Regions from separate parts of the Homo sapiens genome. Here region 2 is linked to region 1. The links are contacts of gene promoters, found by promoter capture Hi-C in human tissues and cell types (Jung and others, 2019). All regions are on one chromosome and are shown on one strand. The core of a region is centred on a gene start or on the middle of the fragment in contact, and the rest is flanking DNA. Distances in the headings are between cores, read along the strand shown.

Evidence for each region. Contacts are between HindIII fragments. The study calls those that stand out against the background at their distance.
Region 2: a contact is called between a fragment that was not itself captured here and the fragment with the promoter of REEP4 in region 1, in 1 of the 25 tissues and cell types used here (dorsolateral prefrontal cortex).

What each region holds. Positions count from the first base shown.
Region 1 is chr8:22,139,879-22,146,449 of GRCh38, reverse strand. REEP4 (receptor accessory protein 4) reads left to right here and starts at 4,543. Exons shown (of 8, transcript NM_025232.4): 1 at 4,543-4,999; 2 at 5,753-5,825; 3 at 6,202-6,278; 4 at 6,367-6,487. The coding sequence starts at 4,968. RefSeq lists silencers at 4,500-4,629, 4,640-4,789 and enhancers at 5,554-6,161, 6,162-6,571. The HindIII fragment of the contact is 4,498 bases long and covers 2,159-6,571 here.
Region 2 is chr8:22,607,326-22,613,896 of GRCh38, reverse strand. It overlaps CCAR2 (cell cycle and apoptosis regulator 2), which reads right to left. Exons shown (of 21, transcript NM_001393997.1): 7 at 5,832-5,928; 8 at 761-880. Among named protein-coding and RNA genes, the nearest start is that of CCAR2, 5.9 kb to the right of the region's middle. The HindIII fragment of the contact is 3,562 bases long and covers 2,393-5,954 here.

The sequences.
Region 1 (6,571 bases), core at 3,294-5,793:
CATTGCCGCCACATCCACCCAGATGAGGCCTTGGAGTCCTAGGTGACATCTGGATCTCTCTTCTCCCATATTTCATAAGCCACCAAGTTCTCTCCATTCTTTGTCCCAAAGGTTTGCTAGATGGGCACTTTTTTGTTTTGCTCTTTCCCAGCTCAAAGCTTTGTCCAAACACTCTTCATCGCCCATTGTCTTGGGTCCCTTGCCAGCCCCCACCAACCCGCTTCTCAGTCTGATTTTTTTTTTTTTTTTTGGAGATGGAGTTTCGCTCTTGTTGTCCAGGCTGGAGTGCAATGGCGCGATCTCGGCTCACCACAACCTCTGCCTCCCAGGTTCAAGCAATTCTCCTGCCTCAGCCTCCTGAGTAGCTGGGATTACAGTCATGCACCACCACACCTGGCTAATTTTGTATTTTTAATAGAGACGGGGTTTCTCCATGTTGGTCAGGCTGATCTTGAACTCCCGACCTCAGGTGATCTGCTGGCCTCAGCCTTCCAAAGTGCTGGGATTATAGGCGTGAGCCACTGAGCCTGGCTTTTTTTTTTTTTTTTTTTAAAGATGGAGTTTCTCTCTTGTAGCCCAGGCTGGAGTGAGGTGGCCCTGTCTTGGCTCACTACAATCTCCGCCTCCCAGGTTCAAGTGATTATCCTGCCTCAGCCTCTTGAGTAGCTGGGACTACAGGTGCCCACCACCACGCCTGGTTAATTTTTGTATTTTTAGGAGAGACGGGGTTTCACCATGTTGGCCAGGCTAGTCTCAAAGTCCCAACCTCAGGTGATCCGCCTGTCTCGGCCTCCCAAAGTGCTGGGATTACAGACGTGAGCCACCACGCTCAGCCATCGGTCTGATCTTTCTAACACACACTTTCCTCCTGTCCTCCCCTGCTCAGGAACCTGCCTTGGCTTCCTGCTCAACAAACCCATGAGCCTCTGCCCACCATGAAGGTTCCTGTGACCTGGTCCCACCGTACACACCCAAGCCCTGTGGGCAGTCAGGGTCCCTCAACATCTCTGTGAGTGGAGTCGAGAGAGTCTAAGACAGTCAGATGGGGGCCGGGTGGGGGACAGTGCTCAGGGTGTCAGTGCAAGTAATGGGGTCTCGGGGACAGCACACTGAATGGCAAAACAGGTGTTGTCAAGCTGTGGGGACCCCTTTTCTCCTCTTCCCCCATGGGCTTGAGTAAATGAAATCCTTTTGTGGCCTTGTGTGGGTTGGTGACAGTGTAAGGGACAGGGGATGGAAACGGGGGAAATGATAGATCCTTGGGCAGTGGTGCTTGCTGTGTGACCCTGGGCAGGTCAAATCCCTTCTCTGAGTCTCCAGGTTTTCATTTGTCCTCCAGAGCCCCTCTCAGCTCTCGCATATCACAAAAACCCTTCGTTTCTCTCTCTTCAGCGAGCACCTGTGAGCAGCTGTGCACAGAGGAGTGGGGTCTGGAGCCTGGATAACATGGGTGTGAATTCTGGCTCAGTCCCTTTCCATGGTGTGAGATTTCAAGCAAGTCAGCTGATTTCCCTGAGCTTCAATTTCTCCTTCTGTGAAGCAGATTTAAAAACCCCACTTCATGGGTTCCTGATTCTGCCAGCCGGGTGAAACCAGCTAGTAACATTCAGCCACGTTACTTAGCCTATTTGTGCCTCGGTTTTTCTTATTTATAAAATGAGTATAATCGTGATACCTACCTGACAGGGTTTGTTGTTTGTTTTTTCCAGCTTAGGCTGGAGTGCAGTAGTGCGATCTTGAGTCACTGCAACCTCAGCCTCCTAGGTTCAATTAATTCTCCTGCCTCAGCCTTCCAAGTAGCTGGGACTACAGGAGCACGCCCCCACCCCTGACTAATTTTCATATTTTTAGTAGAGATGGGTTTCACCATGTTCACCAGACTGGTCTCGAACTCCTGACCTCAATGATCTGCCGTCCTCGGCCTCCCAAAGTGTTGGGATTACTACAGGCATGAGCCACCGCATCCTACCCTGACAGGATTATTTCTCATGAGAGTGAAATGCATTAGTATATGTAAGTCCATTTGTATAGTGTGTCCAGCACATGATTATGATTTGCCTTGGTCTATGGGAATATATGAAAACAGAAGTGGCTCAGAGAGGGGTGTTTTGTGCAAGAGGAGGAGGTGGATCTTTGGAGAGAACTGTCTGTGGGTGATGGTTCCTCACCCATCCTCAGTCTTGGAGCCCCTGTGCCCCATATCTTACCTGCAGCCTCTGACCTGGCCTCCTCACCCCCAGCAATAGGTGACTTACCTGCTTTTCACCTCCTCAAATATGCTCTTAGCTTAGCAGGCACCTCCATCATTCTGGGGAGGCCTGTCCTTCTTTTCCAAATGGGAAACGGGCCCTTATCCTGTGCTTGGGAGAGGTTGCCAGGGAAAGTGGGTTGAGTCTCCCAGACACGCTGGCACTCTGCTGCCCAGTAGAAAGATAAATATCACTTTGACAGCTGCTGCCCCCAGGGGGGAGCTCTTCTGAGGGGTGGGAGGCACTTTCCTCCCTTGGCCCGAGTGCCTGGCTTTCTGTGTGTGCCTGCTGGGTCACTTGCCCTGGGGCTTGTCCACGTCCAGAGTGCTGCTTAGCAACCCAGTGGAATTGGGTGACTGTGTCAACAGCTCAGGACCAAAGGCTGCAAGAGGCAAGGTCTACTCACTCTGCCAAGACCAGGGATGGTGACACTCCTCAGCTGCCAGCCTCTTGCCCTCCGTGCTGAGCCTTGCTGTCAGCGCAGACCTCTGACATCTCTTCTCTGAGATTTCCCAAGCACAGGCATTGGGACCAGGAGTCTCCATACGGGAGACCATCCCAGCTGAATGAGCTTTGGGCGGGCCCAGGTAATGTTTCCCAGCAAATGGGGGTAGACAGAGGCCTGTGATGCTGAGGTCAGGTGCGTGGCCCCAGAAGGCAGCCAGCAGGGAAGGGACAGTTCTGCAGCACGCACCAAAGGACCCGAGGCTCACGTGTGCAGTGACCTCCTGAGTCATGGATGTCCCTTTCAGCTGCTCCCCTATTCAGTCACAGCTTTCCTCCTTCAGGGAGACCCAGGACACTTTTCACCTAGAGAACCATGTCTGTGCCTAAAGATGGACAGTGGCTGGGGCCTTCCTTAGGAGTTCCTCTAGCCCTTGGCCTTTTTGGTTACTCCAATGTGTGTGTGTAAGGGGGGACAGGTAAATGTGAGGGTTGGTTAAGAGAGGAGAGGGAGACATGGGGCCTCGGGGAAGTTTCTCCTGTGGGCTGGTTTCACTGCTGGCTCTCACACCCAGCAATACCAATAAAACTGATGACAGTAATTAAGACCATATAATCACCGTGTGTTTATTTATCCCCCAGAAGCCTCCTTTCCCTGGCCCCATGATTACCTATTCCATCCTTATGATAGCTGGTGGGGGTTAACTGTGGCTCCAATAAAAAGCAGTAACTGCCTGTGTTTCCACCCCACATGCCCGGACAGCTTTGCTCCCACCCTCTGCAAGGTGGGGGGACACTATTTTCAGAGGGAACAACAGAGGCAGTAAGCTGAAGATGTCAAAAAGAATGAAACCTCACAGGGCAAGTAGTAGAAGCAGCAACGTTTGCCTTCTTTTTTAGAGCCTTCCCCCTTCTTCCTGGCATCTGCCTCCCTCCCAGAGGAACTTATCCGGTTCCATGGCCCTCTGCAGGGCCACTCAGCCTGCAGCTGCTGATCTCTCAGAAGACTGATCAAGCCAAGCATGTAGCCACCAGCCAGCAATAAATACCACTGGGTGATACCAGGAAAGTTACTTTTCACCACTGAGCATCCTATTTCCTACATGGTTAAAAGAAGTTTGCAAAGACTAAGACCTTGCGTGCAAACGTGCATTACAAAATGGCAATGGTTGATACTACTATTAAGGGCCCAGGGTTATTTGTGTACTTGGCTCAGAGGAATAGGTGGAATTTCAAACTTCTGCTGAAGGAGTGTGGGAGCTGAGAGCTCTACCCAGAATGCCTCAAATCATCGCGGTCAGCCTGCCCCGGAGTCAGGGATCTGGAAAGGCATCCCAGAGAGAAGGGAACCCCTGAAACCTGGTGGGGCAAAAAGTCCCTCAGGTTCCCTCTCCCCCCACACCTCCCCCCTTTCCCTCCTGGACCCACTGGTGTGAGACCCGGACTTGCTGGCGCTCAGCCAAGCTTCCTTCCAGCTCCTGACTGAGCCTGCAGAGGAGATCCTTCCCTCTACCCCACCAACCGCATCTCATGCCTTTACCCGGTTCACAGAGGGGAAAATGAGGCGAGAGGGAAAGACACCGGGAAAAGCCAGTGAAGGGTCGCTTAAACTCTGGAGTCCAGATTTTCTTTGTGTGCCGACCCCCGCACTCCCCCTGCTTTTTTGTTACAGCTTCCCACACGCTAATCTTTCCGATTGGGAAGGTGGCTCCACTGTGGGCCCCACGCGCGAGTCCCGCGGCACATCGCCCCTTTAAGGGGCCGGCCTCTCGCCTCCCTGACCTCGCCCCGCCCCCTCCGGGGCTACACTGCGCCTGCGTGGCAAGCCGGAGCCCTGGGGTTGGGCAGCACTCGGTTCCGTGCAACTTTCAAGTGAGTTGCGAACTCCGCCCTGTAGGCCGGTGCTGGTGGCCCGGCGCGCTGGAACCGCGGCGACCCGCTCCAGCGCGGGACCAGCAGCAAGGGCCGAGCGCCAGGTTCTCCGCGGCAGAAAGGGCGGGTGGGAGCTGTAACTGCCCCGGCCGCGGGGCGCGCCCGCTCCCAAGTCGGCTTCCTCCCCGCCGGGGCCGCTTTGCCTCGGGTCTCCCCATTCTCCAGGTCCCCTGAACTGCACAGTCGGAGGCCGTGGGCGGCGGGCTCTGCCTCCGCCGAGGGACAGCCGGATCGCCCCTCTGCTTCCCGCAACTGCCCTGATCACCCCCCGTCCCAGCCCTTGAGTGAACGTCCTTCTGAGCGGCTTCCTGGGGTCCTCCCCACGTCCCAAAGGCCGGCAAGATGGTGTCCTGGATGATCTGTCGCCTGGTGGTGTGAGTATGGCCGCCCTCAGACCTCCTCTACCCCGGGGTGCCGTCCCGCCCCTGTGGTGGAAGCTGTGGACGTCTAGTGGGAGGAGGAACTTTCTGAGCTCCACCCTCCAGCACTCCATGCAAGGGTTAACGGACCTGTGGGCTTGCACGCGGTGTCTGGGGCACCGCAGGCTACCCGCCCCACCAAGCCTCGTTGGCTGAGAACGACCCCTGCCGCACGCCACACACACTGCAAACAGATGCGTGGAGCCGAGGGCCACAGGCCTACCTTGCTGCCCCTTGGCAAACACAAGGTGATATGGCACGTTGTGGGCGGAGAATCCAGGTGCCTGCTTGCCATCTGAGCAGTCACATGACTCACCATCCTATTCCTCACCTTTGAGTATGCCAACATCTGGCTCACATAGCCCTATCTGCAACCCAGCAGTGTCAGGTCTGGTGACCCTGGGCCTGATTGCATGCCCATGGGAGGGGACAGTCTGGTGTTCTCACCCACTTCGTGGAGTGGCTGTCCTCTCACTCCATCATGCACCCATGGGCCACCGGTGCAGGCCTGGGCAGGCTTGGGATGTTTGTAAACAGCAGGGTGGGGAGGTGGCCTCCAGGGCTCTGACTCAGGCACGGGTTGTACAAGCCAAGCGAGAAAAACAGGGCGGGTACTGCCACCTTGCACCCCAGTGGGGGGAAATGGCCACTTGGCAAGGTGGGAGTGGGGCATGGTGCCCCTCACACTCCCCATGGCTGCTCTTCCAGGCTGGTGTTTGGGATGCTGTGTCCAGCTTATGCTTCCTATAAGGCTGTGAAGACCAAGAACATTCGTGAATATGTGAGCGTGGGGGTTTGGGTGTGTTTAATAGGACTTGGTGAGGTGGGGAGGGTCTCAGTTGGCCTCTCCCTCCTCCAGGGGCAAGGCTGTGTGGCACATCCTGAGTGGAGTGGGGAGGGAGAGAGAATGGGCCCTGTTCAAGAGGGTGTAGATAGAGGGCAGGCCATCGGGGTGCCTGTGGAAGATCTGGTGGGTGAAGCTTGTTGGAGGCGGGCATAGGAATGAGCAGCAGTTTCTCAGAGCTCCTGTCCAGCCATGTGTGGGGGAAAGCAGCTATGCAGCCGGACAGGCTCCCTGGAATCTCTGGGCTGGGCTGGCCTGGGTTGGGAGTTGGTGCTGCAGGCCCCATGCTGACCTCTGGGCGCTCACCCCACAGGTGCGGTGGATGATGTACTGGATTGTTTTTGCACTCTTCATGGCAGCAGAGATCGTTACAGACATTTTTATCTCCTGGTATGGACGCAGGGTCCGCAAGCCATGGGTCAGGGGTGGCCCCCCCAGCCCTGCTCCTTGGCTCACCCTGCCCCTTGTGCTGTGACAGGTTCCCTTTCTACTATGAGATCAAGATGGCCTTCGTGCTGTGGCTGCTCTCACCCTACACCAAGGGCGCCAGCCTGCTTTACCGCAAGTTTGTCCACCCGTCCCTGTCCCGCCATGAGAAGGTACCCCAGGGGGAAGCGGGAAGGGAGGCTTAGGGGTGGGTATGAGGGAAAGAGCCCTGGACCTGGGATTTAGGATGCTGGGGA
Region 2 (6,571 bases), core at 2,924-5,423, 470 kb before region 1:
GGGAAAAAAGAAAACACTTATAACACATGACAGAGAAATGGGTCATTGCCTTAATATAAAGGAACTCACAAATCAGTAACAAAAAGTTCAAAAGCCTAAAACGGAAAATTGACATCAATAGGTTCTTAAGAGAAATACATAAGAATTAGAGGCCAGGAAAATATGCTCAATCTCACTTACAATTAAAGAAATGCAAACCACATTATCATGTGTCACCAACTAGACAGACAAAGATGAAAAAGTCGGCTAACAGTGTTGGCAACGGCACGGGGAAATAAGGTCTCCACACCCCACTGGTTAGAGCAGAAGGGGCACAGCCTCTTCAGGAGAACTGGCAATAGCTATGGAAGCTTAAAGCAAAGCCTTTGAGCCAGCTGCTCCATTTCTAGAAATTGATCGCAACAAACACACAGGTGTAGGTAGAAGGATGTTCATTCCAAGAAAATTTAGGATAGAGTGCAAATGGAGAACTGGGTAAATAAATCATGTTCATCCATTCAATGAATACTGTGTAGTTGCTAAAAAAAAAAAAAAAAAAAAAGAACTAGATCTAATAAATGTTCATACGAAATAAAATCTAAAGTACATTCAGTGAAAAGGCAAACCACCAAACAGTATGTACAACAGGTTTCCATGTGCTTTTCGTTTTGTAAGAAAAGGCTGTAAGAACATACATGTGCACTTGCATAGACGCCATCTCATTTACATAAGAAACTATTACCAGCAGCAAGACTCAGCCCACCTCAGCCTCGCCACTCACCTGTCCACAGTGTAAGGAGTGAGGTGGACCCGGTAAGGAGGCAGGTCATGCCTTGGCTTCTTAGCACCCCAGGGCTCTCCACCAGCCCGCTGTTTGCGTTTCTTGGAGTCATAGTCATCACTAGAGGTTGACCCATCACCAACAGTAAGAAACCACATTGTTATATGTATTCAATACAAACTGAACTAAAAGAACTGGAAACAATCGAAATCCCTCACATTCAATAAATGGAAAAAGAATCCATGCTAACAGCCATATGACAGAATGTTATAAAGATATTAAAATGGATATTTACTGTTTTAATAAACATTCCTGTTAAGCAAAAAGCACACTCTGCAACATTGTATACACAGTAGGCCTCAGCTACTGCAAAAACAACTTTAGAAGACTGAAAGGAAATAAAATATTAATGATGGAAGCCTCTGGAAAGCTTACGAATAATTTTCTATTTTTCTGCACTTCATTAATTATAGTTAACGTGATTTTTTTGAAATGAGAAAAAAATGATTTTTCTTTTAAAAACAAGAGACGCATATATGGATCCATGCTATGCGTCCTTTAAAGTAAATTTGGCCGGGCGCGGTGGCTCACGCCTGTGATCCCAGCACTTTGGGAGGCCAAGGCGGGCAGATCACGAGGTCAAGAGATCGAGACCATCCTGGCCAACATGGTGAAACCCCGTCTCTACTAAAAATACAAAAATTAGCTGGGCCTGGTGGTGCGTGCCTGCAGTCCCAGCTACTTGGGAGGGTGAGGCAGGAGAATCGCTTGAACCCAGAAGGTAGAAGTTGCAGTGAGCCAAGGTTGCACCACTGCACTCCAGCCTGGTGACAGAGCAAGACTCCGTCTCAAAAAAAAAAAGTAAATTTTATTAGAAGAGACGGTTACAAGGCTGGGCGCGGTGGCTCACGCCTGTTATCCCAGCACTTAGGGAGGCCGAAGTGGGCGGATCACTTGAGGTCGGGAGTTCAAGACCAGCCTGGCCAACACGGTGAAACCCTATCTCTACTAAAAATACAAAAAAGTAGCCAGGTGTGGTTGCACACGTCTGTAATCCCAGCTACTCGGGAGACTGAGGCAAGGAGAATCGCTTGAACCGGGGAGGCGGAGGTGGCAGTGAGCCGAGATCGCGCCATTCCACTCCAGCCTGGGCAACAAAGCGATACTCTGTCTCACCAAAAAAAAAAAAAAGAGAGACAGTTACAAATCCTTAATAATACACATTAAAGTCATAAAAACACTCAAACCATTTGCTCCAGTAATTACACTCTTGAAAATTTGTCCCAAGAAAGTTAATTCAAAAGAAGAAGAAAGACTACACATAGTGGAAAAATATGAAGCAGCATAAACTGAGAGTAAAAAACCAAATACATACTCAGCAATACCCAAATTTTCATAGTAAATACAAACAATCACGCAGCCATTAAAACACTCAGGATTATGCTGCAATATGGAAAACTGTTTATAAATACACAAAAATAATTTGAACTGTAAGATTAAAATTGCAAAAAGTATGCACATGTATAGATAAAAACTAGAACACAGGAGAAAAGAGTGGCAAGAGATTTTCCTTTTCAAAATTATTTTCTAAAATTCTTTAATACCTACCTGTTAACAACAGTTACCTTTAAAGAGAAAGAAGGTAGAAACCACACATATTTTTACATATATATATACACACACACATATGTATACACACACACATATATACACACATATATACACACACATACACACACACACACACATATATATACTTTTTTTTTTTTTTTTTTTGAGACAGAGTCTTGCTCTGTTGCCCAGGCAGGAATGCAGTGGCGTGATCTCAGCTCACTGCAACTTCTGCCTCCCGGGTTCAAGCAATTCTCCTGCCTCAGCCTCCCGAGTAGCTGGGATTACAGGTACCCACCGCCATGCCTGGCTAATTTTTGTATTTTTAGTAGAGTCAGGGTTTCACCATCTTGGCCAGGCTGGTTTTGAACTCCTGACTTCAAGTAATCCGCCCGCCTCAGCCTCCCAAAGTGCTAGGATTACAGGCATGAGCCACCGCGCCTGGCCTACGTATTTATATTATTTTAATTTTATGTATTTATATTATTTTAATTTTATATAATAGCATGTACTGCTTTACACATTTTTATAATAAGTCACCACAGTATTACACTATAACTACGTTATAAGTGCAATAGATATGGGTACAATAAATAAAAATAGTTGAGGAGAAAAAACCTTTAGACCATTCATTATAACGTGCCAGACTGATAAGGGGAAAACCCCCCATGTCACATGAGAGAAATAAAACCCACTGCCATTTCTCTGTGCCTGGGTAACTGAGTTGATTGTATTCACCAGAAGGTTCTTGTTCTGCCTTTTAGACCTGCCTGGGTCATTTCCCTGTTCACACCCCAGTGACTAAGCTGAAGAGATTTATCATGATGCCTGCTCTTTTCTGTTGGCCTTGGTCACTTCCATGTGCATGAGCATCTCCATCCAAAAGTGGCCTTCTTCTCTAGCCCCGATGGGATGTCAGTAGCCCATGTTTCTAATAGAAGACCCATGCCAAAGCCACTTTGACAACTCTCCAGCTCGCAGGAATGCTGTCGGCCTCTAGCTAAACTGTTATGGTCCACTCAACGCTGTACACTGTGTGGCCACTTTCCTCCGCTTCCTGTACATTGTCAGGAGGTTGTAAGGCAGCACCAGGGGCTGACCTCTCAGGACTTGCAGCAGCAGAGCCCAGCTGGGTACACCTGTCTAAAAACCACAGCACAGCAGTAGCAGCTCAATGGAGACATTGTTCTCTGCATCCCAAAGCCAGGAATTCAAAATAAAGCTTGGCTTCCATGCAAAACATTAATGTGGCTGAGTCCTTCATAAATTAAAAGCTGAGAAACTAAATAAATAAATAAAAGTTGCTGCCCCAGAATGACCTACTTCCTACTACCCCTGGCCCCACTCTGCACATTCTCTCTACTGACGAATGGTAATATAATATCTCCCTCCCAATGGTAGTATAGGTTGAGTATCCCTTATCTGAAATGCTTGGGACCAGAAGCATCCTGGGTTTGGAATTTTTTTCAGATTTTGCAATGTTTGCATTATACCTACTGGCTGAGCATCCCAAATCCAAAAATCCAAATCTGAAATGCTCAATAAACATTTCCTTTTGAGTGCCATGTCAGCACTCAAAAAGTTCTCGATTTGAGAGTACTTTGGGTTTAAGGATTTAGGATGCTCAACCTGTACGTCCTTTCTGTAGAAGCTGTGACACTGAAGCATAATGGCCAAAGTAATACAACAGACCTTGCATGGGCCTCAGCACGTCCAGGACAATCAAATGCAACTGATAGAGAAAGCCTGAAATTAACCGTAAAGCAGAAAGTCCACGGCAGTCACAGAGTTTCACCCAGGCTACACCGTCTCAGAAGGCACCTGCTGTGATTTTGTAATGAAGCCTTTAATAAACTCACACACTGTGAAAGGGAGAAGGTCCCTAGAAACTGAGGACCAGGAAGATGCACAGGACAAGAGGAGTGGGTAAACACAAAATATATACCAGCGACTGGATATATTTATATACTTATGAATATGGTGTCTACAATGGAGAATGGGACACAGGGTTTCAAGCAGTGGAAACCCCATGGCAAACAATCCCAAAGCTTCCCCCTACTTAGAATTCACAATGGGCCGGGCGTGGTGGCCCACACCTGTAATCCCAGCGCTTTGGGAGGCTGAGGTGGGAAGATGACTTGAGCCCAGGAGTTCGAGACCAGCCTGGGCAACATGGTAAAACCCTTTCTCTGACCCCCACAAAAATAAATAAATATTTACTTATTTTTTGTAGAGATAGGCTCCCAAAGCACTGGGATTTATAGGCATAAGCCATCGCACCCAGCCTTACAAAAAACGTTTTAAAAAATTACTCCAGCATGGTGGTGCACACCTGCAGTCCCAGCTACTGCGGAGGCCGAGGCAGGAGGATGGCTTGTGCCAGAGAGATCAAGGCTGCAATGAGCCGTGATCACACCACCACACTCCAGCCTGGGTGACGGAGCAAGCCCTTGTCTCAAAAAAAAAAAAAAAAGAAAAAAAAAGGGTTAAGGGTTACATAACATTTCCCATTTGTCAAAACTGTCAAGATTTGTGCATTTCAATCTACATAAGTTCCACGTTAAAATTTTTTACCTTAACAAAATCAAGTGGGAGCAGTGAATAGATGGAGGTAGAGATGAAAAAGAATGGTAGCTGATACTTGAAGAAGCTGGGTAATGGGTATAATAAGGTTCCTCACACCTTTCTGTTTACCTTGCATATAGTGAAATTCTCCATTATAACAAGTTTAAAATGAAGACAGAACTAGAACGAGTCTTAAACAAATCATTCTGGAGCTTAACTTTTAGAGGTATAAGCAAAACACTCAGGGAGAGTGAGACTGAGGAAGGAACATGTGAACTGGAGAGAAGACGGGACAGCATGCTCCTAGTGGTCCCCAATGCTACAGATGACACAGCATCACCAGGATACCCTAAAGGCCCAAATCAGCCATGCTTGCTCCACACATGGCTGAGAAAGCTACCTGTGTGTCCAAGGCACGGGGGCCTGAACTCCCAGGCAGAGTGCAATATACACCTTCTAACAGCATACTGATGAGTATGGTGTCTATAAAGAAACGTTTTAAACAACGAGAACAGATACTGCAGTGTTCTAGTTGTTTTGACATGTTACTATTGAGAGTTTCCATTCCTATCATCTCAACTTAGGGACTAGAAACAGAAGAGTATTTAAGAAGTATCTCAACATGACATTTTGAAAGATGAACTGTATCAACTCCCTGCTTGCTTAACCACTGTATAAAATTCCAATATTTTTATACACATTTCAGTTGTGTCTACATACTTCACAGAAAAGGGACTAGGATCTAGCTGCAGGCAAAGAATGTTAGTGGTAAGCATAGCCACCTTCCAAGCAGTTGACCTGGGTTCACTTCCTGGCCAACACAAAAAAATAATAATAAAATAAAGAGAATGTTAGTGTCAACAAGTGGCCAAAAAAAGGGACATCATCCTCTTACCTTCGGCCCTGATCCAACCGTCCATGAGGGCCCCGGGCAGGAAATCTGTTCAGGTGGCTCAGGTGAAGTGTGTGGGATGTTTGGAAGAGACTCAGAGCTGCAGAAAGGAAATGACTGGTGACTCAAAAACCCTAAAAACCGGCCGGGTGCAATAGCTCACACCTGTAATCCCAGCACTTTGAGAGGACAGTGCAGATGGATCACTTGAGGTCAGGAGTTCAAGACTAGCCTGGCGAACATGGTGAAACCCCGTCTCCACTAAAAATACAAAAAATCAGCCGGGCATGGTGGTGGGTGCCTGTAGTCCCAGCTACTCAGGAGGCTGAGGCAGGAGAATGGTGTGAACCCAGGAGGCGGAGCTTGCAGTGAGCCGAGATCGCGCCACTGTACTCTAGCCTGGGTGACAGAGCAAGACTTTCTCTCAAAAAAAATTAGCCGGTCATGGTGGCGGGCGCCTGTAATCCCAGCTACGGGGGAAGCTGAGGCAGGAGAATTGCTTGAACCCAGGAGGCAGAGGTTGCAATGAGCCGAGATCGTGTCATTGCACTCCAGCCTGGGCAACAGAGCGAGACTCCATCAAAAAAAAAAAAAAAAAAAACCCTAAACACCTATCCAGATTGCCCACCTTTCTTCCAGTACATAGAAGTACCCACCTCTATGCTAAGAGCAGCAACCTGAAAGTCCATTGATCTAAACTACCCCATAATGCCACACCCAACAACAGTGCCACTCGTACTCAC